7 separate regions of the Homo sapiens genome follow, and all the other regions are linked to region 6. Evidence: promoter capture Hi-C in 16 types of primary human blood cells and fetal thymus (Javierre and others, 2016). All regions are on one chromosome and are shown on one strand. The core of a region is centred on a gene start or on the middle of the fragment in contact, and the rest is flanking DNA. Distances in the headings are between cores, read along the strand shown. Region 1 holds the start of DTNBP1 (dystrobrevin binding protein 1). Region 2 overlaps DTNBP1 (dystrobrevin binding protein 1). Region 3 overlaps DTNBP1 (dystrobrevin binding protein 1). Region 4 overlaps JARID2 (jumonji and AT-rich interaction domain containing 2). Region 5 overlaps DTNBP1 (dystrobrevin binding protein 1). Region 6 holds the start of RNF182 (ring finger protein 182). Region 7 overlaps DTNBP1 (dystrobrevin binding protein 1).

Region 1 (2,711 bases), core at 212-2,711, 1.7 Mb after region 6:
ATCCGGGAGGCGGCGGTTGCAGTGAGCCGAGATCACGCCACTGCACTCCAGTCTGGGTGACAGAGCAAGACTCCATCTCAAAAAAAAGGGGGGTGGGGGGGAGAAATTTAAAACAGTATGAGTGGAAATGTTCTCACATTCAGTGCATCCTCCAACAGGATTTGTAAGCTAAAGTTGAAAGATCCTTTTCAAAGACAGATCTTTTTCACTTTAAAGGAATGAAAAAATTAAAATTAAGCACTAAGTAACAATACTGACATGATGCTTGCTTCGTGTTTTACACATTAATTCATTAATCCTTGTAATAACCTTTTAAGTACCATCATTATCCCCATTTTACGGTAGCGGAAACAGTACATTGAGGCAAGGCAGCTGAGTAACTACGTTTGATTTAGTGGTCGAGCCAGGATGCCTAGGCAATCTGGCGCCAGAGTCTCGGCCTGTGGTTCCCAGGCGTTGGTGCCCACTGGAATCCCCTGGGGATCTTTAAAACGCCGTCTCCAGGCACTCTGGTCAACAGGTAGGGGGTGAGACCTGGGCATCAGAACTCTGAAAGGTTCCCAGGTGATTCTAAGCAAAGTTTGGGAACCGCTGGGTATTAAAAGCATTCCTAAAGTTCTGTCGCTTCTCCTGCTTAGGAGTTCCTTCGCCGAGGCGCTGAGCTCACGGCAAAGGTAGAGAAAGGACGCAACGGGGAGGGGCGGCCAGCCTTGCCAAGGGTTAGGCCGGCGAGCCGGGCGTGAAAGCCGAGACGCGGCGCGGAAGGCTGTGGCCGGAGGGTGCAGGCTGCTGCGCGGTGCGATCCGACTCGGGGAGGGTGGCTGGCCCAGCTCCAGGTGCGCACGAGCAGGTGTCTGCTGGGCCGAGGGGCGCAGGCCACTGTGCCGCGGGGGCGGAAGCGGTGAGGCGCGCTGGCTTCTCACATGACTTCCCTCCAGGGCCCAGCTGATGCTGCCGGGAAAGGACCGCAGGGTCCCACACCCCCCCCGGGCGCTCCGCTGCGCCGCCGAGCGCCTCCCGGTCCTGGGGGGTGCGCGTCACAGGCGGCCCGCAGGGACCTAAGTTACTTTGCGCCGCCCGACGCGAGGACGCCGGGAAGTTCGTTACTTTCCTCGGCGGGGCGGGGCGGGGAGGTGCGGGACAGGACGGACCCTGGACCGTGGCGCGGGGAAGGGAGCGAGGCAGGGGCATCCCAGGCGGCGGCCCGGCCCCCTCAGGTCCCTTTTCGTCGCCCACCGTATACCCACCCGGAGGTGAAATCCTGCTGCACGCTCAGCAGCCGCTCGCGAAGGGTCTCCAGCATTGCCGCCGCCGCCGGTCTCCTCTCCTCAGGCCTCGGGCTGCTGCTGCCTCTGTCGCCCCCTGGGTCCCACGCCGCCAACCCCGCGCTGTCACCGCGCGCCCCGCACTCCCACTACCGGCCCCGCCCCCGGTCTGGTCCTCGCCGCCGCGCCGCAACCCCAGCCCCTTCCGCGTTCCCGCCCCGCGCGCGCCAGGCTCGCGCAGCCGCAGTGGACTGCGCCGGGCTCGGGCTGCGGAAAAGGGGCGGGTCTTCCCCCGACCGAGAGGGCCAGTAGCTCCTCGGCTCATTCCTATCCCGCACCAGGCCTTCTCGTTTTTTTTTTTTTTTCTTTAAAATGGAAGCGGCATCGTGAAAGGATGATTTAACTCGAAGCCTCCTTTGAGGGAAGTGTTGGCTTTTACGTTTTGGAAGAGAATTGGATCTCTCTCTTCAATAGGCGATGTGCACAAATCATTGCATGGATTCTAGGTCCAGGATCTGACCCCACTGGCTTTCACCTTGAATGAGACAGTCAAATATTGAGCCTCGGTTTCTTCATTCATAAAATGGCAATAATAGTCGACTGTCTCGACATTCTTACTTTCCACTCTCTCTTTACCCCCCCAGGCTTTTGTGCCCTACACACCAAAGGTGATCGCCTTTCGCGAGTCACCAGTGACTTCCATGTTGCTGATGCCTTTTATTACTTCTCTGCCCTGATTTTTTCTCCACCTCTCAGTGGCTTTCAATGCAGTTTATCATCCCCATCCTTAAAACACTTTCTTCTCTTGCTAAGCACTCCATAGTTCCTCTCTCCCTTCCGCTCCACCCCTTCTCCTATTTTAATAGCCACTCCCAAGGCTACAGTCCAGCCTCCCCAGCTCTTCTCTCTTCTCCAGATGTGTTGTTCCATAGATGGATAGCATAGAGTCTATCCATTACCACGCTGTAAATTCTGTCAAGGAACCGATGACTCCCACAGCTCTATCTTCTGCCCTGTCCTTCCTCCCTCTCCGTCAATTCATACCAGTTGCTTACTCATGTAAGCATGTATACAACATGTATCCAAAAGGCATCTCAGACCAACATACACAAAATTGAAAATTTCATTCATTGCATGTTCACCTTTAATCTGCTCATCCTGTATTTTCCGTTTCAGTAAATGACACCACCATCCACCAATTTGCTCAAGGTAAGACACTTGAAATCACCTCTGGTTCCCCTCTTTTCCTCATTCCCCATATTAACCCATCAAATCCAATCAACTCTACTCCTGAAGTATTTCTGGAACCTCCTTCTCTTTCTATATCTTCACTATATTTATCCTGGTCGAAGGCACCATCCTCTTTCAATGGGAACACAGACAGTTCTTCCAGATTCTACTCTTTTGCCATACACACCCCTATAATCCATCCTTGACACAGCAGCC
Region 2 (2,730 bases), core at 72-2,571, 1.6 Mb after region 6:
GCAAATGCTGTGTGCTTCCAGCCAGTCGCGAAAAGGCAAATGCTGTGTGCTTCCACTCATATGAGGTACCTAGAGCAGTCAGATGGATGGAGACACGAAGTGTGCTCTCAGGGCTGGGGAGAGGGCGTGGGAGCTTAGTGGTTAATGGGTACAGATTTTCAGTTTTACAAGACGAAAGACATCTGGAGATGGATGGTAGTGATGGATGCACAGCATGAATATATTTAATACCACTCAGCTGGACACTTATGAATTCTATGTACACATAAAATGGTAAATTTTATGTGTACTTTACCACAGTAAAAAGTTGGGAACAGGGCCGGGCGCGGTGGCTCACGCCTATAATCCCAGCCCTTTGGGAGGCCGAGGCAGGCGGATCACCTGAGGTAAGGAGTTCGAGACCAGCCTGGCCAATATGGTAAAACCGTAAAACCCCATCTCTACTAAAAATACAAAAATTAGCCAGGCATGGTGGCAGTCACCTGTATTCCCAGCTACTCAGGAGACTGAGGCAGGAGAATCACTTGAACCCAGGAGGCAGAGGTTGCAGTGAGCCAAGATCTTGCCACTGCACTCCAGCCTGGGAGACAGAGCGAGACTCTGTCTCAAAAAAAAAAAAAAAAAAAAGCTTGGGAACAAAAAAAGTAAGTATGTAGCCATCATGGTGTATTACAAAGTGCTTAATCTTGGCTTTTTAGTGTTTACTGACCACACAACCTAATCAGTTAACCTTCTCATCTGAAAATTTGGGATAGAAATATTAACCCAATATTGATATGAAACATATGAAAGGATGTGAAAAAATTTTATAATTTAAGGGACCAGTGACCCTTCAAGGTAAGCCTTAGTAATATACAAGGCAAGAACACTAACATAATTAACCTTCACCTGGTCATTCAAGCAAGAACCCCAAATCTCCCAGCTATAAACACTTTCCAGTAGTTTAACTTTTCCTCAAGGCACGTGATATGGTTTAGCTCTGTGTTCCCACCCAAATCTCATATCGAATTGTAATTCTCACATGTCAGGGGAGGGAAGTGATTGGGTCATGGGGGCAGTCTCCCCCATGCTGTTCTCGTGATAGTGAGTAGTTCTCACTAGATCTGATGGTTGTGTAAGTGTCTGACAGTTCCTCCTTCACATGCTCATACTCTCCACCTTGTGAAGGAGCCTGCTTCCCCTTCTGCCATGATCATAAGTTTCCTGAGGCCTCCCCAGCCATGCAGAGCTGTGAGTCAATTAAACCTCCTTTGTTTATAAATTACCTATTTTTTTTGAGACAGAGTCTTACTCTGTTCCCCAAGCTGAAGTGCAGTGACAGTGGTGCGATCTCAGTTCACTGCAACCTCTGCCTCCTGGGTTCAAGCAATTATTGTGCCTCAGCCTCCCAAGTAGCTGGGATTACAGGAGCACGCCACTATGCCCAGCTAATTTTTTGTATTTTTAGTAGAGATGGAGTTTTGCCATGTTGGTCAGGCTGGTCTCAAACTCCTACCTCAAGTGATCTGCCTGCCTCGGCCTCCCAAAGTGCTGGAACTACAGGTGTGAGCAACCTCACCCAGCCTCAGGTATTTCTTTATAGCAGTGTGAATATTGACTAATGCAGCAAATTGGTACTGGAGAGAGTGGGGTATTGATATAAAGATACTTGAAAATGTGGAAGGGACTTTGGAACTGGGTTACGGGTAGAGGTTGGAACAGTCTGGAGGGCTCAGAAAAAGACAGGAAGATATGGGAAACTCTGGAACCTCCTAGAGACTTGTGGAATGGTTTCAACCAAAATGCTGATAGTGATGTGAACAATGAAGTCCAGACTGAGGTGGTCTCAGATGGAGATGAGGAACTTATTGGGAACTGGAGTAAAGGTCACTCATGCTATGCTTTAGCAGACTGGTGGCATTTTGCCATGCCTTTGAGATCTGTGGAACCTTGAACTTGAGAGCAATGATTAAGGGTATCTGGTGGAAGAAATTTCTAAGCAGTAAAGCATTCAAGACATGACCTGGATTATTCTGAAAGCTTTCAGTTTTATGTGTTCACAAGGAGATAGTTTGAACTTGGAGCTTATGTTTACAAGAAAAGCAAAACATAAAAGTTTAGAAAATCTGTAGCCTGACAATGCGACAGAAAAGAAAAACCCATTTTCTGGGGAGAAATTCAAGCCAGCTGCAGAAATTTGCATAAGTAATAAGGAGTTGAATGTTAAGTGCCAAGACAATGCGGAAAATGTCTCCTGGGCATGTCAGAGATTTTGGCAGCAGCCTCTCCCATCACAGGCCCTGAGGCCTAGGAGGAAAAATAGTTTTGTGGGCCAGGCCCAGGGGCCAGCTGCTCTGTGCAGCCTTGGGATATGGCACCCTGCATTCCAGCCACTCTAACTACAGCCGTGGCTAAAAGGGGCCAAGGTACAGCTTGGGCTATTGCTTCAGAGGGTGCAAGCCACAAGCCTTGGCAGCTTCCACATGCTGTTAGGCCTGCGGGTGCACGGAAGTCAAGAATTGAGGTTTGGAAACCTTGGCCTAGATCTCCCAGGATGTATGGAAATGCCTGGATGTCCAGGCAAAAGTCTGCTGCAGGGACACAGCCCTCATGGAGATCTCTATTAGGGCAGTGCAAATGGTAAATGTGGGGTTGCTGCCCCACCACCTCCACAGAGTCCCCACTGGGGCACTGCCTAGTGGAGCTGTGAGAAGAGGGCCACTGCCCTCCAGAGCCCAGAATGGTAGATCC
Region 3 (2,700 bases), core at 67-2,566, 1.7 Mb after region 6:
CTTTTGGGTAAACAATGAAATTAAGGCAGAGATAAAAAAAAATTAATTGAATCAAATGAAAATAAAGACACAACATACCAAAACCTCTGAGATACAGAAAAAGCAGTATTAAGAAGAAAATTTACAGTGCTCCATGACTACACCAAAACACACAAAGATCTCAAATTAACAACTTAACACCACACTTTTAAGAACTAGAAAGGCAAGAACAAACTAAACCCAAAGCTAACAGAAGAAATAATTATGATCAGAGCAGAACTAAATGAAATTGAGACCAAAAAAAAACCATACAAAGTATCAACAACACAAAAAGTTAGATATTTGAAAAGATAAACAAGATTGACAGACTGCTGGCTAGATTAACCAAGAAAAAAAGAAAAGAGATTCAAATAAGCACTATCAGAAATGACAAAAGTGACATCATAACTGACACCACAGAAAGACAAAAGATCATCAGAGACTACTAAGAACATCTCTATGTGCACAAATTAGAAGACCTAGAGGAAATGGATTAATTCCTAGAAACACATCACCTTCCAGACTGAACCAGAAAGAAATTGAAATTCTGAACAGACCAATAACAAGTTACGAAATTCAATCAGTAATAATAATAATAAAAAAAATCTACCAACCAAAAAAAGCCCTAGACCAGATGGATTTACAGCTAAATTCCACCAGATGTACAAAGAACTGGTACCAATCTTACTGAAACTATTCCAAAAAATTGAAGAGAGGAGATTTCTCCTTCACCTCATTCTATGCAACTAGTATTATCCTGATTCCAAAACCTAGCAATGACATAACAAAAAAAGAAAACTACAGGTCAACATTACTGATAAACATAGACACAAAAATCCTCAACAAAATGCTATCAAACTAAATCCAACAGCACATCAAAGAGATAGTTCACCATGATCAAGTGGGTTTAACCCTTGGATGCAAGGACGGTTCAACAAACACAAATCAATGAATGTGATTTACCACATAAACAGAGTTAAAAGCAAAAATAACATAATCTTCTCAAAAGACACAGAAAAGGCATTCGATAAAATTCAATATCCCTTCATAACGAAAATCCTCAACAAACAAGGCATCAAAGGAACATACCTGAAAATACTAAGAGCCATATATGACAAACCCACAGTCAACACAATACTGAATGGGCAATAGTTGAAAGCATTCTCCCTAAGAACTGGAACAAGACAAGGATGTCCACTCTCACCACTCCTATTCAACATAATACTGGAAGTCCTAGCTGGAGCAATCAAGCATGAGAAAGAAATATAAGGTACCCAAATAGGAAAAGATGAAGACAAATTAATTATCTCTGTTTGCTGACAACATGATTACATACCCAGAAAACCCTAAAGAATCCTCCAAAAGACTCATAGACCTGATAAACAACTTCAGTAACTTTTCAACATACAAAAGCAATGTACAAAACTCCACAGCATCAACTCATTTGAGAAACTAAAAAATAAAAATTAAAAAATAAATAAAAATAAAATCTGCAGCATTTTTATACACCAACAACATTCAATCTGAGAACCAAATCAAGAACTCAATCTCATTTACAATAGACACACACACACACACACACACACACACATATACAATACCTAGTATATATAACCAAGGAAGTGAAAGATCTCTACAAAGAGAACTGTAAAACACTGATGAAAGAAATCATAGATGACACGAATGGAAAAACATTCCATGCTCATGGATTAGAAGAATCAATAACATTAAAATAACCACATTGCCCAAAGCAATCTACAGATTCAGTGCAATTCCCATCAAATTACCAATGCCATTTTCCCCAAAATCAGAAAAAAAAAATCTAAAATTCATATGGAATCAAAAAAAGAGCCTGAATAGCCAAAGCAATCCAAAGCAAAAAGAACAAATCTAGAAGCATCACATTACCTGACTTCAAACCATACTACAAGGCTACAGTAACCAAAACATCATAGTACTAGTATAAAAATAGACACACAGATCAATGGAACAGGATAGAGAATCCAGAAATAAAGTCACACAGCTACAACTAACTGATCTTCAGCAACGTCAACAAAAATAAACAATGGGGAAAGGACACCCTATTCAATAAATGGTGCGAGGAAAACTGGCTAGCCATTTATGGATGAACAAAACTGGACCCCTACCTCTTACCATATACAAAAATTAGCTCAAGATTAAAGACTTACATGTAAGACCTCAAACTATAAAAACCCTAGAAGAAAACCTAGAAAAAAACCCTTTTGGGCACTGGCCTAAGCAAATAATTTATGACTAAGACATCAAAAACAATTGTGACAAAAAATGACAAATGGGACTTAAACTAAAGAGCTTCTGCGTAGCAAAAGAAACAACACAATAAACAGACAACCTACAGAATGAGAGAAAGTTTTTGCAAACTATGCATCCATCAAAAGACTAATATCCAGAATCTATAAGGAACTTAAACAAATGAACAAGAAAAAACAACCCCATTAAAAAGTGAGCAAAGGATATGAATAGACTCTTCTCAAATGAAGACATATAAGAAGCCAACAAAGATGAAAAAAATGCTCAGCATCACTAATCATCAGAGCAATGCAAATTAAAACCAAATGAGATACATACAATCTCATGCCAGTCAGATGTGAAAAATGATACATGAACAAAATGGTAACATCAATACCACTACCGTTTATATCT
Region 4 (2,700 bases), core at 180-2,679, 1.6 Mb after region 6:
GAGGACCCCTGCCATGGTTATACCCTGGAGGGTCTGTGAGCCACCACTTCCCCAGGCCACCCTCTGACAGAGGCCTATGAGCCCTTGATCCTCCTGTGTGTCTTGCTGTATGTGCCTGATGCCGGGTAGGCTGGGTCCTAACACGTAAAACTCTCCAGTGGGGAGCAGAGCTGGGGGCCCCTAGCTATCCCCTGACCCCTACTTCACCACAGCATCTGCCAAGGAGTTGGCCTTGAGGTGGCACATGTGCATGAGCCTGGCTCCTTCCCCAACTCTCTGTGCATTTGTAGAGGGCAGGGTTTACTGTTCCTGTCTGGAGGGCCGAGGGAGCCACGTATTCCTTGTGAGGACATTATCAGGTGCTGCTCCTGCAGTGGCCTCTGTTAACAGAAGGAGGGTGCAGTGCTGGAGCCTCAGAAGAGGCTCGTGGAGGCCGCAGTGTGTCTGGTTCTGATTTCTAGGGGTTTGTGAACATCTGTTTGTGGTTTGAAGGCTTTTTGGCTCACCAGGTGGGTCAGATCTCCATAAAAGATGAGCATCTCGCAACGCGGATGCACTGTGGTTTGGCTGTGTGCTAGGTGGACGTGGCACTGCTGCCATGGGAAATGGGAGCCAGCAGTGACCAGGCACCCAGCCAGGCCAGTGCGCCATCCCTGCCGGCGTGGAGCAGAGCCTCTCGTGTGCTCGGGTCCCTGAGGGTGACGGGGGTGGCCCAGTACATGCAGGAGGCCCTTGTCAAGTCTCTGCTTGTCTCTTGTGTCTCTCAATGACCCAGGTATTGCATTCCTGCTGAGGAGGAGAACAAGCTGGAAGATGTGGTCCACACCCTGCTGCAAGCCAATGGCACCCCAGGGCTGCAGATGCTGGAAAGCAACGTCATGGTGCGTCCACTCAGCCACCGCCTCCAGCAGGAGCTGTAGGACCTCCTAGGCACTTGAACATGGTTTCCCATGAACCCGCCTTTCAAAGGCAATGAGGACACAGCAAAACAAATCCCCAGGGTGCAAAGGGAAAGGTCCTCTGACACAAAAGCCAAACTGACCTTCCATCAGATTGCACAGGGCGCTGGGGTTTTGCACGGCCTTTGCATCTGTTTTGGGGCTTGTTTGTGTTGTGGGCTGCTGTGGGCCCTGGGATTTCTTGTGCCCGCCGCTCCTACCTTCTGGGCATGTGAGAGGAATGAGCACAAAGGCTTCTTCACCTGTTTTCAGGAAGTCATGGGGCTGGTGAGTTCCTGGGAAGTGCTGCTTTGAGCTGAGTTCTGACCAGCTTCTCTGGCCTCTGCTGACCCTGCCGGTCCCGCCTGTCCATCTTAGAGAAGAGATGGACGGGGGACTCCTTTGTAAGCCCAGCCTGTGGGCCTGTGGCCTACTTGGCTCTGGAGATGAGCCCGGCAGCCTCCTGGTTGTGTAACCTTGTCCTGTTTCCAGCCCTGGCATTGCCACGTGGGGACAGAGGGGCCTGTGTGGTCATCATGTCCTCAGCTGTGCATGAACCTGTCATCACTCTTGGACCAGTGCAGTTTAGAAGCTCCTTCTTGTGTTATGAATGACGTCTTTTTATTTTCCACATAAAACAATCTTATCTCCTTGAGAGCAGGCCTCTTAGGGTGCGCATACGTCACCTGAAGACTGCAGGTGTCCCTGCGCACAGGGAGGGGTGCCTCAGCCTGGCCCTGTCTCCCCAGATCTCCCCGGAGGTGCTGTGCAAAGAGGGGATCAAGGTGCACAGGACCGTGCAGCAGAGTGGCCAGTTTGTCGTCTGCTTCCCGGGATCCTTTGTGTCCAAAGTGTGCTGTGGGTACAGCGTGTCTGAAACCGTGCACTTTGCTACCACCCAGTGGACAAGTATGGGCTTTGAGACCGCCAAGGTGAGCAGAGCCGGCCTCCTCCCGCTTGCTGCCCCCGCATCCCTGTGAGTGCCGTGCGTGAGCGCACACAGAAGCATCCCTGCGTGTGCGTGTCTATTTGTCAATAGTTCCTTTTGGAATATGTCTTTGAAATTCTTAAGACGTGGTTGAAAGGTCTTCTAGGAATGAAAAGTTGTTAGGGATTTGTTTGTATCACAAAGAGTTTTGATCAGACCGTTACTGACAGACCCCTCCAGTATTGGAAAACTGTTGAAGATGCTCAAGGTAATTGCTTAGAATGGACAGAGAACCTCCACCCATCGTGAGGGAGTGGCAGCTGCCTCTGGGTAGCGGCGAAGTGCTATGACTTTTCCTGGTATGTGGTGCCTTTCTCACAGGGAGGCAAAGTTTTGAAGAGTTTTTAATCTAAATGCAATTCAAGATTTAGAAATTCAGACAGCCTGCCTGCCCCCTCCACCAAGAAGAACCTTGACAGCTGCCTAGTAATGAAAATCCACCCTAAAGGGATGTGACTCCTCTTTCAGGAAATGAAGCGTCGCCATATAGCTAAGCCATTCTCCATGGAGAAGTTACTCTACCAGATTGCACAAGCAGAAGCAAAAAAAGAAAACGGTCCCACTCTCAGTACCATCTCAGCCCTCCTGGATGAGCTCAGGTAACAGACCCCCAGAGCCCACGCCAGAGAGCTGGACCCGGCTGCCCTTCGGGGGCTCACCCCCCGAGCAGGCCTCACTTCCTGACAGGAGGGTGTGTCTGCAGGGAGGCCGGTGTGGGGTGCGTGTGTCCCCTCTGCTGGTGAGCATGGCAGGCCGTCACTAAAGGTGCGGGCC
Region 5 (2,700 bases), core at 5-2,504, 1.7 Mb after region 6:
ACTACACAATGTTTTGTTGTTTATCAAGGCAATGTCCGTTCCAGTCTACAAAGGCACTGGTAACAGTAATATCATTTTACATGCAGAAAAATATTTAGAAAAGCAATTTATGGGTATTTTCCCCGTACAACCACACAAGTGTCTTAGATGGCACTTTTCTCAGATAACTAGCTAAAGAGAGATGTCCTACTTTACTGCACAAATGAAGTGGATTAAACCGTCTATTCAAATGTTTCTCAAGGGTAGGTAAGAGCTATCAGAACCATCCCTAGGCTGTATATTTCCCTACCCACTGGGAGAATCCCCTGACTAGGAAGCCACTGTCACGTTTATTTTATTTTGTGTTTATTTATTTTATAATGGGTCACAGTCCTGTTTTTGTAGGGGCAGGAATGTATTCTCTCTGCTGGGAACGTCCGTCAAATGAATGACAAAATATCATATATCCATTTGAAACTACAGATGCACTGGTATAAACATCTGGGACTCAATCAGTTTGTTCCAACTTAACATCAAAAAAGAAGACACATTTGGGTTGGTGTGGTGGTGTGGTGGGAGCCTTGGACTGAAGACTCTGGTTCTGATGCTGGCCCCTAAATAGTCTGATGACTTAATGCAACTCAATCTCCTTCTCAACTCCAAAAATTGCTGCCCTGCCCACACTACAGGCTCTGGTGGGAGCTGAATGAGAAAAGCCATAGGAGCCTATTGCAGAGCCTATTAGCACTGGAGGAGTGTGAAAAATTATCTTTCATTCTCCCACTCTCCCCACCTTCATCCAGTGTTCTGGCCCGGATTTTTGGGAAAGCTACAGGGTGTGCAAACATTGTTAAAAAAATGCATGCACATAAGCATATCACATATCCAACTTTTTCTATCACATATTATCGTTTTCTTCAGAGTAAGAAAAGTCATTAGTGTAGTTTGCATAGCATCTTGTTAAAAAGGAAGAAGGTTTATTTTTAAGCGACTCATCTCTTATGAACCAGAAAATTAAAAGTTTTTCACTGGCAGTATTTGAAAATTTCTCAAATGGTGTTATGTAGAATACTAAGTCACAGAATGTTAATATGTGTTACATGCAAATTGATTCTGTGAGCAAGTAAGTTGTGAAATGCTGAGTCAAAAAAAAATTTTTTTTTTTTTTTTTTGAGACAGAGTCTCACTCTGTAACCCAGGCTGGAGTGCAGTGGTGTGAGCTCAGCTCACTGCAACCTCCCGGTCCTGGGTTCAAGCAATTCTCCTGCCTTAGCCTCTTGAGTGTCTGGGATTACAGGCACCCACTACCACATCCAGCTAATTTTTGTATTTTTAGTGGAGACAGGGTTTCACCATGTTGGCCCGGCTGGTCTCGAACTCCTGACTTCAAGTGATCTGCCGCTTTCGGCTGGGATTACAGGCATGAGCCACTGTGCCCGGCCAAAATATTTCTTTGTTTTTTTGAGACAGAGTCTCACTCTGTTGCCCAGACTGGAGTGCAGTGGCACGATCTTGGCTCACTGCAACCTCCACCTCCGGAGTTCAAGGGATTCTCCTGCCTCAGCCTCCCAAGTAGCTGGGATTATAGGCATGCAACACCATGCCCAGCTAATTTTTATATTTTTAGTAGAGATGGGGTTTCACCATGTTGGCCAGGCTGGTCTCAAACTCCTGACCTCACATGATCTGCCCGCCTCAGCCTCCCAAAGTCCTGGGATTATAGGTGTGAGCCACCGTGCCCAGCAAAACATTTCTTTACCACAGGAATTCTCAGAACCTTTAGCACGCTGATGCACACTGCAAAGCTCCGTGGGCAAATGCAAAGTGTTTCTGGAGCTTATCTGATCACATACTGTTTTATCAATGGCAACCTTTTCAGTCTAGTATTCCATGCAGAAGAATTCAGGGAATGTTATATGGAATTAATTAAAAAATGTTTAATTCAATTTTTGCATGTTGATAGTACATACCCATTCCTGAAGTCAAAGAGCACCCAGGAGATGTATTTATAGTGAAGACAAGTAGTCCCTGCCCCAGCTCTCTCCACCTTTCTGCCCTGTTTTTCACAAGCAGCCATGTTCAATTCTTTCAGTTATTTTTCCTGGCATTTACCTCTGTTATTTCTAAATAATATGCAAATATTAATATTTATTCTTTTTTCAATTTTAAATATTACTTCTTGATTTCCTGCTGGAGAAGATGAGGATTAGCTATTTTACACCTCTAATTCCCCTCAACACAAATATGCTTTTTCTCCCCCATCTCCCCAGCAAGTTTTATCACAATTCTGCTTTTAATTATTCCAATATCACATAAATACTGTTTGTGACTGAGCCATGTAGCATATTATTTCTCTTTTTTAAAAACTGTTTCCCCTCAGTGTTAATATCTACCTTGTTGTTGTTTGCTTGGTTTAAAAAAAAACACACACATTTATCTCTAATTCCTCATTAAACCCTCCACCAGAGTTTAATAATTCAAGTTATAAATAAATAAATAAATAAATAAAGGAGTCATAAAGCTCCTCTCAATATTGCCACGCCGATAAGACAATGCATTAGCTTCATTTTTTCCCCCTTGGAAACACTACTTAGAATTCTCCAGAAGGCCTTCCTGTCCCAATATGAATTGCTCTCTAGGATTGCTGAAGCTTCTCACCACCTCCCTAGAAATTCCCTTGGTGTCTCTTCTGAACAGAATGAATCCTCCTGGAGTGACTCA
Region 6 (2,700 bases), core at 26-2,525:
TCTCCGAGGAACAAACTGTTTTCCTTTTCCACCATGAAATAGATCTTATCTTTTCATTAGTTAATATAGGTGTACCTTCAAATGGCAATAACATTGTTCTGCTTTGTGGCTTCTCAAGTAGTAAACCCAGAAAACATCAGCTACCGTGGATTTTATTATAAATCATTGACATTCCTTTGGTGATTCACAAATGCCAAAAAATAAATGTCATGTTCCCCAGGGTTTGAAGAAAGACACTGTAGCTTTTGGATTCAGCAACGGATCTTTCAAGAAAACAGTATGGAGGGATGACTCACTCCCCCCATGGAGGCTGCCCTCTAGTTCGTCCTTTAGAGGAAGCATGACCAAGGGTCTGCTGGTACTTTTCTCTCCCTCTCTAAGAATTTCCTCAGGAGAGGAAAAAGTTAGCTTTCTTTTCTCTGCTCCTGAGTGCCATGGCCTGCAGTACGTGACCAGTCCTTGGCACAGAGTCACTCAGGGCTCATGGTAGATGCTTAGCGGTCACAGCCAGTAGCTGCGCAGTGTGGCAGCAGCTGAGATCCATACTGCAGCCTGAAAGTTGTGTTTCAGCTTCTGAGGTTACAAGTGTATCCAGTGTTTACATCAGAGATAAAGCCCCCTTTCCCCTCTCTCCTACGGGAGCCCTCAACAAGACAGATACACGGGTTGGGTGGAGTGAGACCACATCCAGCAGAGGCAAAGCTTGCTAAAAGAGAGAGGAGGAGGAGGGGGAGAGGGAGGAGGCGGCACGGCGTCCCTTGGCAGCTCCGTGCATGCTGCGGCAGTTGCAACAGGAGAACCGAGTACCAGTTGCTCAACACTTTATCACTTTGCATTGCTCTTTCTCCTCCCTTAAGTGAATTTCCATTTTGAGGGTACAGCTCCACAGGAGAAAGGTGTGGTGGTGGTAGTGGTGGAGGGTGTCTGTGGGGGGGATGGTGGTGCGACGGGAGTTGGAATGTCCAGTGTGGGGAAGCAAAGGAGTGCCTACTAGGATGCGAATACCACTTGGCCCTGGGCTCGCTCCGCTTTAGCCTTCCCCTCTCGCTGGGGAGAAACAGGCGGTTTGTGAGGGAGACTGAGAGAGGGGCGTGTTTGTGGTGGTGGCGGCCCATCGGGGGTCCTTGTCCTCTCCGAATACCCGGACTGCTGAGGGGAAGGGCCGGGGGGGCCCCGGCGGTTGCCATGGTGACGCAGGGTCGGCGGCTCAGCGCCGTAGAGACAAAGCCGCCCGCCCGCCAGCCCGCTAGCTCCTCGCGCGAGCTCCTCCTCCACGGGAACCTCCCTCCCCTCCCAGGCGCCGCCGCAGCCGGAGCGGCTCCCGGGCCCTGGGCCGCCGCCGGCCAGGTAAGGCGATCGCGCCCGCGGCCGGGGAGGGGTCGGCGGGACGCCGGGCCTCCCCAACGCTGGGGCAGCAGCCAGCCCCGCAGTCCTGGACGGCGCCGGGCCGCCCAAGCGCGCCGAGGAGAGGGGGCGGCAAACTTCGGGCCGAGCGGCGCCGGGGCCCGCGCGCGGAGTCTCCCTCCGGGCACCACGGGGGCCGCCGTCCTGGCACCAACTTGAGGGGCTGTGCGGCGGAGGGCGGCTGCGGAGCGCCCGCGCGGGCTGCACCTGCTCAGGGAGCTGCCCCTCTGTTGTTGTTGTTATTTTCCTTCTTGGCGTGCCATCGAGGCTTTTGGGGGAAAAAAAGGTATGAAAGTATTTACCTTTGGACTTTCATGTTTCATGGCATTCTCTTTGAGGAGGGGTTGGGAGGGTAGTAAGAGGGACAAGCGAAAGATTTTTACGAATCTCTGAAAAGTGAGCCCATTTTTATGCCTGTGGCTGAAGCATTTTGAGGAGGCTTCTGAAGTTCGTTTGGATATTGAATCGAAAGACCTTTTTTTCTTTGGAAGGTGCAGTTGCACCTATAACTGGATGGTAAGGGTAGCCCGGCTTTCCCCGACTAGCAAGACCAGAATGTAGAGCAGTACCGATACTTTGTCAAGGAGATACTTGGCACCGAGGTCATTGCTTTTGTTTCTAGAAGGTATTGTGTTCATGCTGTAAGGAACTGGAAAGTGCCTTTTGTTTTTATGTGTAGGGAGGCAATCCAAAGCACCTCTGGAGGCAGGTAGCTGGGCGGTGTTTGCATCGGTGTTTATGAGTGGGATGATGAGGACCACGATGCGGTTGCCACTGGGGCACTGGATAGGTTATAGGTACCTTTCTCAGTGGCCCCAACCCTTGCAATCATTTCGTGATAGTTTGTTGCAGACGCGAAGCACAGATTTAAATTGTGACTGTGAAGACTTTTTTTTTTGGTACTTAGACATCATCTTACATGTAGTAATATGAAAGAAAACAGATACATTTTCAGAAATACAGTTGATCAATTCAGAAGGAAATTGTATATATGTTAATAAGATTTGTTTTAAATCATATTTAAACAATATGAGATGTCATATTGATAACTGGAAAATAATCTAACATATAAAATTGTATATCCAACTTAGTAAAATAATGTATAAGTTGGAATAGGTCATTTAAAGAACTATATGGAATGCAAGAAATTATATTTTTGCTAGAGAGTAATTAATGAAAACAGTACCACTGATCATTTTGAATTGCAGTTAAGTTGATTGGAATTCTGCATATTACAGCTACTTGAGGTGTCAGGCAAAGAGTGATTATTTAATATTCCTCTTCCCTCTTTTGGGA
Region 7 (2,700 bases), core at 57-2,556, 1.7 Mb after region 6:
CCTCCTACTTTACTAAGATCTTAAGCTTGATTAGGAAATAGTAAGCTGCAATATTATCCTTAGATGTGGCATCATCAAACATAAAAGATAATTTTCTGAATATAAACCCAAGAAAAAAAGAATACCAACATAATCCATCCAAATGAACAACGACAAAAAAATAAATTTCCACAGAGTATAAATTTAGCCAAACAGGTACCCTAATTTACTTTGTTGTTGTTGTTGTTTGAGACAAGGTCTCACTATGTTGCCCAGGCTGGATTCAAACTCCTGGGCTCAAGCACTCCTCCTGCCTCAGTCTCCAGAATAGCTGCAACTGCAGGCACGTGCCACCACACCCAGCACAAGTACCCTCATTTAACCAGGTTTGTTTGATCTCCAATCCGTTTGAAGAGAAAAAAATACACTACAAGACATGAAGTTCTAGCATATCTAAATTTTAAAAGCAACAATTTCTGGAATACATTCTACAGTAAGGACAAAGTCACCTAATCCATTTTCTATATGTATGCTTTTAAACAGAGACCAAATGTCAACAAAGACAACCTGAGTCACTTTAAGAATCAACATAATTATAATTATGTGTCCGGAGCTGACCTGAGGCAGAAACAGAACTAATTTCTACACTTTACATCATTTTCTGTGGAATCCTCAACTAATCAAAATATGAAATCATGATTTTCCAAAAAATCCTGTTAACCCAGAATTTCATGTGTTCCTGAAAAGCTCTGAAATTACACCAAACCCTGCCCAAGTTGTTTTCATTCCTAAAAGTAATGTACAATGAAAACATTGGACTTACTCAGATTTGCTGTCATGGATTCTAAGTCTGCGATTAAAGCTGGGAGCTGCTGGAGCTGCTCTTGCAGCTCCACGAGGCTTGTCTTTTTCTTCTCCCAGTGCGCAGAAAGCATGACCACCTCGCTATCCACCAGCTGCAGCACACAAGAAGGGGGGTAAAGTGAAACCAGGTTTTAGGCACAAAGAAAGTACAGTTAACGTAATGAGATTTAATGTTATCTTTAACAACCCCTCTACTCAGTAGAGATTACGGTACATTCTAAAAGAGACTGAAGTTGTTTTCATTTTTAGAAAAGAAACAACTTAATATTCAGTGCAGGAAACCTCCAATTACTGCTTGTATCAGTGCATCTTAACCCACAGAAGAGAAAGTTTAAAAATGACTTCAGAAGTCACTTCTAAGTATACCCTGTTTTAAGCAGACCATGTATTTGAAAAGCTAAATCTAGAAAAAAAAAAAACAAAAACAAAAAACTACCACTAACAACCAAAAAGAAAACAAACATAAAACATAATTAACGGGTAATTATTGGCTTTACGAAAGGAAGTCTTCAAAGAAAAGTTCCCTAATACATTTAGAATATACCATGTTTCAATTTACATTTAAACAGGAATACTTATTGCATAAAGTATATAAAGGAATTTTGAGGAAACTGGCCAATTCCAGAATTCCAGAAAAAGAGGAAATGATTTAAGTTAATGAGGAATTCAGCAGATGTAAAGGGTTCCTAATAGCAAGGTTGTGAAATTCTAGAATAGCCTAAGATAATTCTAACTTCTTTTGCTAAAGACTATAAAGAAAATGACAGACATTAGTTTCTCCCAGACAATTCTGTTTTGGTCTTAACATAGTGGGAGGGACAAGGGCCTAGAAAGACTTAGAAGGAGCAAGAAGAGGTGATCTTTTGAAAATATCAACATGAATAAGCAAGAACTGTGGAAAAAACTCCATAATCTGTACGATAAAAAATAAAGGTAACAAAACCCATTATATGACAGAAGAAAATGAATTTGAGTATTCAAAACAGACAATTTGTACATCTCAAGATTAAGGTTCTTTTTTTTTTTTTTTTTTTTTTTTGAGACGAAGTTTCGCTCTTGTTGCCCAGGCTGGAGTGCAGTGGTGCTATCTTGGCTCACTGCAACCTCCGCCTCCCAGGTTCATGCGATTCTCCTGCCTCAGACTCCCCAGTAGTTGGGACTACAGGCACCTACCACCACACCCGGCTAATTTTTTGTATTTTTAGTAGAGACAGGGTTTCACCAAGTTGGCCAGGCTGGTTTTGAACTCCTGGCCTCAAGCAATCCACCCATCTTGGCCTCCCAAAGTGTTAGGATTACAGGCATGAGCCACTGTGCCCGGCCAGGATTAAGGCTCTTTAAGAGTTAGAATCTGAATACAACTGATTCTTACTAAGTTCCACTTAATAAATTAAGAAAGAACTTTGGAGGAATGAATATATCAAAGATACAAAATTATTTGTATGTAGTACTAGATTGTTTTTGTTCGTACATTTCACTATAGTAGGAATTCTCATTTGAAATAAAGAACTAAGCTATGACACATCTCCCTGTGGTTTCTCAGCCCACGCTGGAGGGATAAACACATAATCTCTCACATTCAAGCCTCAACTGAGCTGGGAGGCCACATCAAGTTTCACGCAAACCGCATTTCTCATTATTTTTGTGTATTTAAAAATGTCTGTTGCCAACTGGTCTTTAAAAAAAATCTTTAAAAGTAGCTTAAAACATACTGAAAAAACAGCTAAAATGCAGTAAGGAAACCAAAGCTTGAAACAAGGATCTATGTTCACAAAATTCATTTATAATATTCCACAAACTTCCACTGACCACCCACTATTTGCTAAGCCCTATTTTGGATACTGAAGATGTAATGAT

Evidence for each region. The method cuts DNA at HindIII sites, captures the fragments that hold promoters and counts their contacts. A CHiCAGO score of 5 or more calls a contact.
Region 1: a contact is called between the fragment with the promoter of DTNBP1 here and the fragment with the promoter of RNF182 in region 6, in 6 of 17 cell types (total B cells, naive B cells, activated CD4 T cells and 3 more). The highest score is 13.7, in total B cells.
Region 2: a contact is called between a fragment that was not itself captured here and the fragment with the promoter of RNF182 in region 6, in 1 of 17 cell types (total B cells). The highest score is 5.4, in total B cells.
Region 3: a fragment that was not itself captured here is called in contact with the fragment with the promoter of RNF182 in region 6 in 1 of 17 cell types (naive B cells); the score reaches 5.5 in naive B cells.
Region 4: a contact is called between a fragment that was not itself captured here and the fragment with the promoter of RNF182 in region 6, in 2 of 17 cell types (total B cells and naive B cells). The highest score is 7.3, in total B cells.
Region 5: a fragment that was not itself captured here is called in contact with the fragment with the promoter of RNF182 in region 6 in 1 of 17 cell types (naive B cells); the score reaches 6.6 in naive B cells.
Region 7: a contact is called between a fragment that was not itself captured here and the fragment with the promoter of RNF182 in region 6, in 5 of 17 cell types (activated CD4 T cells, naive B cells, total B cells and 2 more). The highest score is 12.7, in activated CD4 T cells.

The regions. Positions count from the first base shown.
Region 1 is chr6:15,661,567-15,664,277 of GRCh38, forward strand. DTNBP1 (dystrobrevin binding protein 1) reads right to left here and starts at 1,462. Exons shown (of 10, transcript NM_032122.5): 1 at 1,248-1,462. The coding sequence starts at 1,303. RefSeq lists an enhancer at 669-718 and a silencer at 949-1,458. The HindIII fragment of the contact is 5,039 bases long and covers 1-2,711 here.
Region 2 is chr6:15,534,053-15,536,782 of GRCh38, forward strand. The region is part of intron 7 of DTNBP1 (dystrobrevin binding protein 1); the gene reads right to left. The region is part of intron 2 of LOC105374947 (a long non-coding RNA gene); the gene reads left to right. Among named protein-coding and RNA genes, the nearest start is that of DTNBP1-AS1, 11 kb to the right of the region's middle. RefSeq lists a silencer at 992-1,192. The HindIII fragment of the contact is 1,391 bases long and covers 627-2,017 here.
Region 3 is chr6:15,644,679-15,647,378 of GRCh38, forward strand. All of the region lies in intron 3 of DTNBP1 (dystrobrevin binding protein 1), which reads right to left. Among named protein-coding and RNA genes, the nearest start is that of DTNBP1, 17 kb to the right of the region's middle. The HindIII fragment of the contact is 4,613 bases long and covers 1-2,700 here.
Region 4 is chr6:15,510,521-15,513,220 of GRCh38, forward strand. JARID2 (jumonji and AT-rich interaction domain containing 2) reads left to right here. Exons shown (of 18, transcript NM_004973.4): 13 at 776-881; 14 at 1,688-1,870; 15 at 2,395-2,525. Among named protein-coding and RNA genes, the nearest start is that of DTNBP1-AS1, 34 kb to the right of the region's middle. RefSeq lists an enhancer at 2,271-2,700. The HindIII fragment of the contact is 8,599 bases long and covers 1-2,700 here.
Region 5 is chr6:15,605,878-15,608,577 of GRCh38, forward strand. All of the region lies in intron 6 of DTNBP1 (dystrobrevin binding protein 1), which reads right to left. Among named protein-coding and RNA genes, the nearest start is that of DTNBP1, 56 kb to the right of the region's middle. The HindIII fragment of the contact is 2,746 bases long and covers 1-2,627 here.
Region 6 is chr6:13,923,677-13,926,376 of GRCh38, forward strand. RNF182 (ring finger protein 182) reads left to right here and starts at 1,276. Exons shown (of 3, transcript NM_152737.4): 1 at 1,276-1,347. RefSeq lists an enhancer at 171-671. The HindIII fragment of the contact is 2,801 bases long and covers 701-2,700 here.
Region 7 is chr6:15,626,541-15,629,240 of GRCh38, forward strand. DTNBP1 (dystrobrevin binding protein 1) reads right to left here. Exons shown (of 10, transcript NM_032122.5): 5 at 803-935. Among named protein-coding and RNA genes, the nearest start is that of DTNBP1, 35 kb to the right of the region's middle. The HindIII fragment of the contact is 2,566 bases long and covers 24-2,589 here.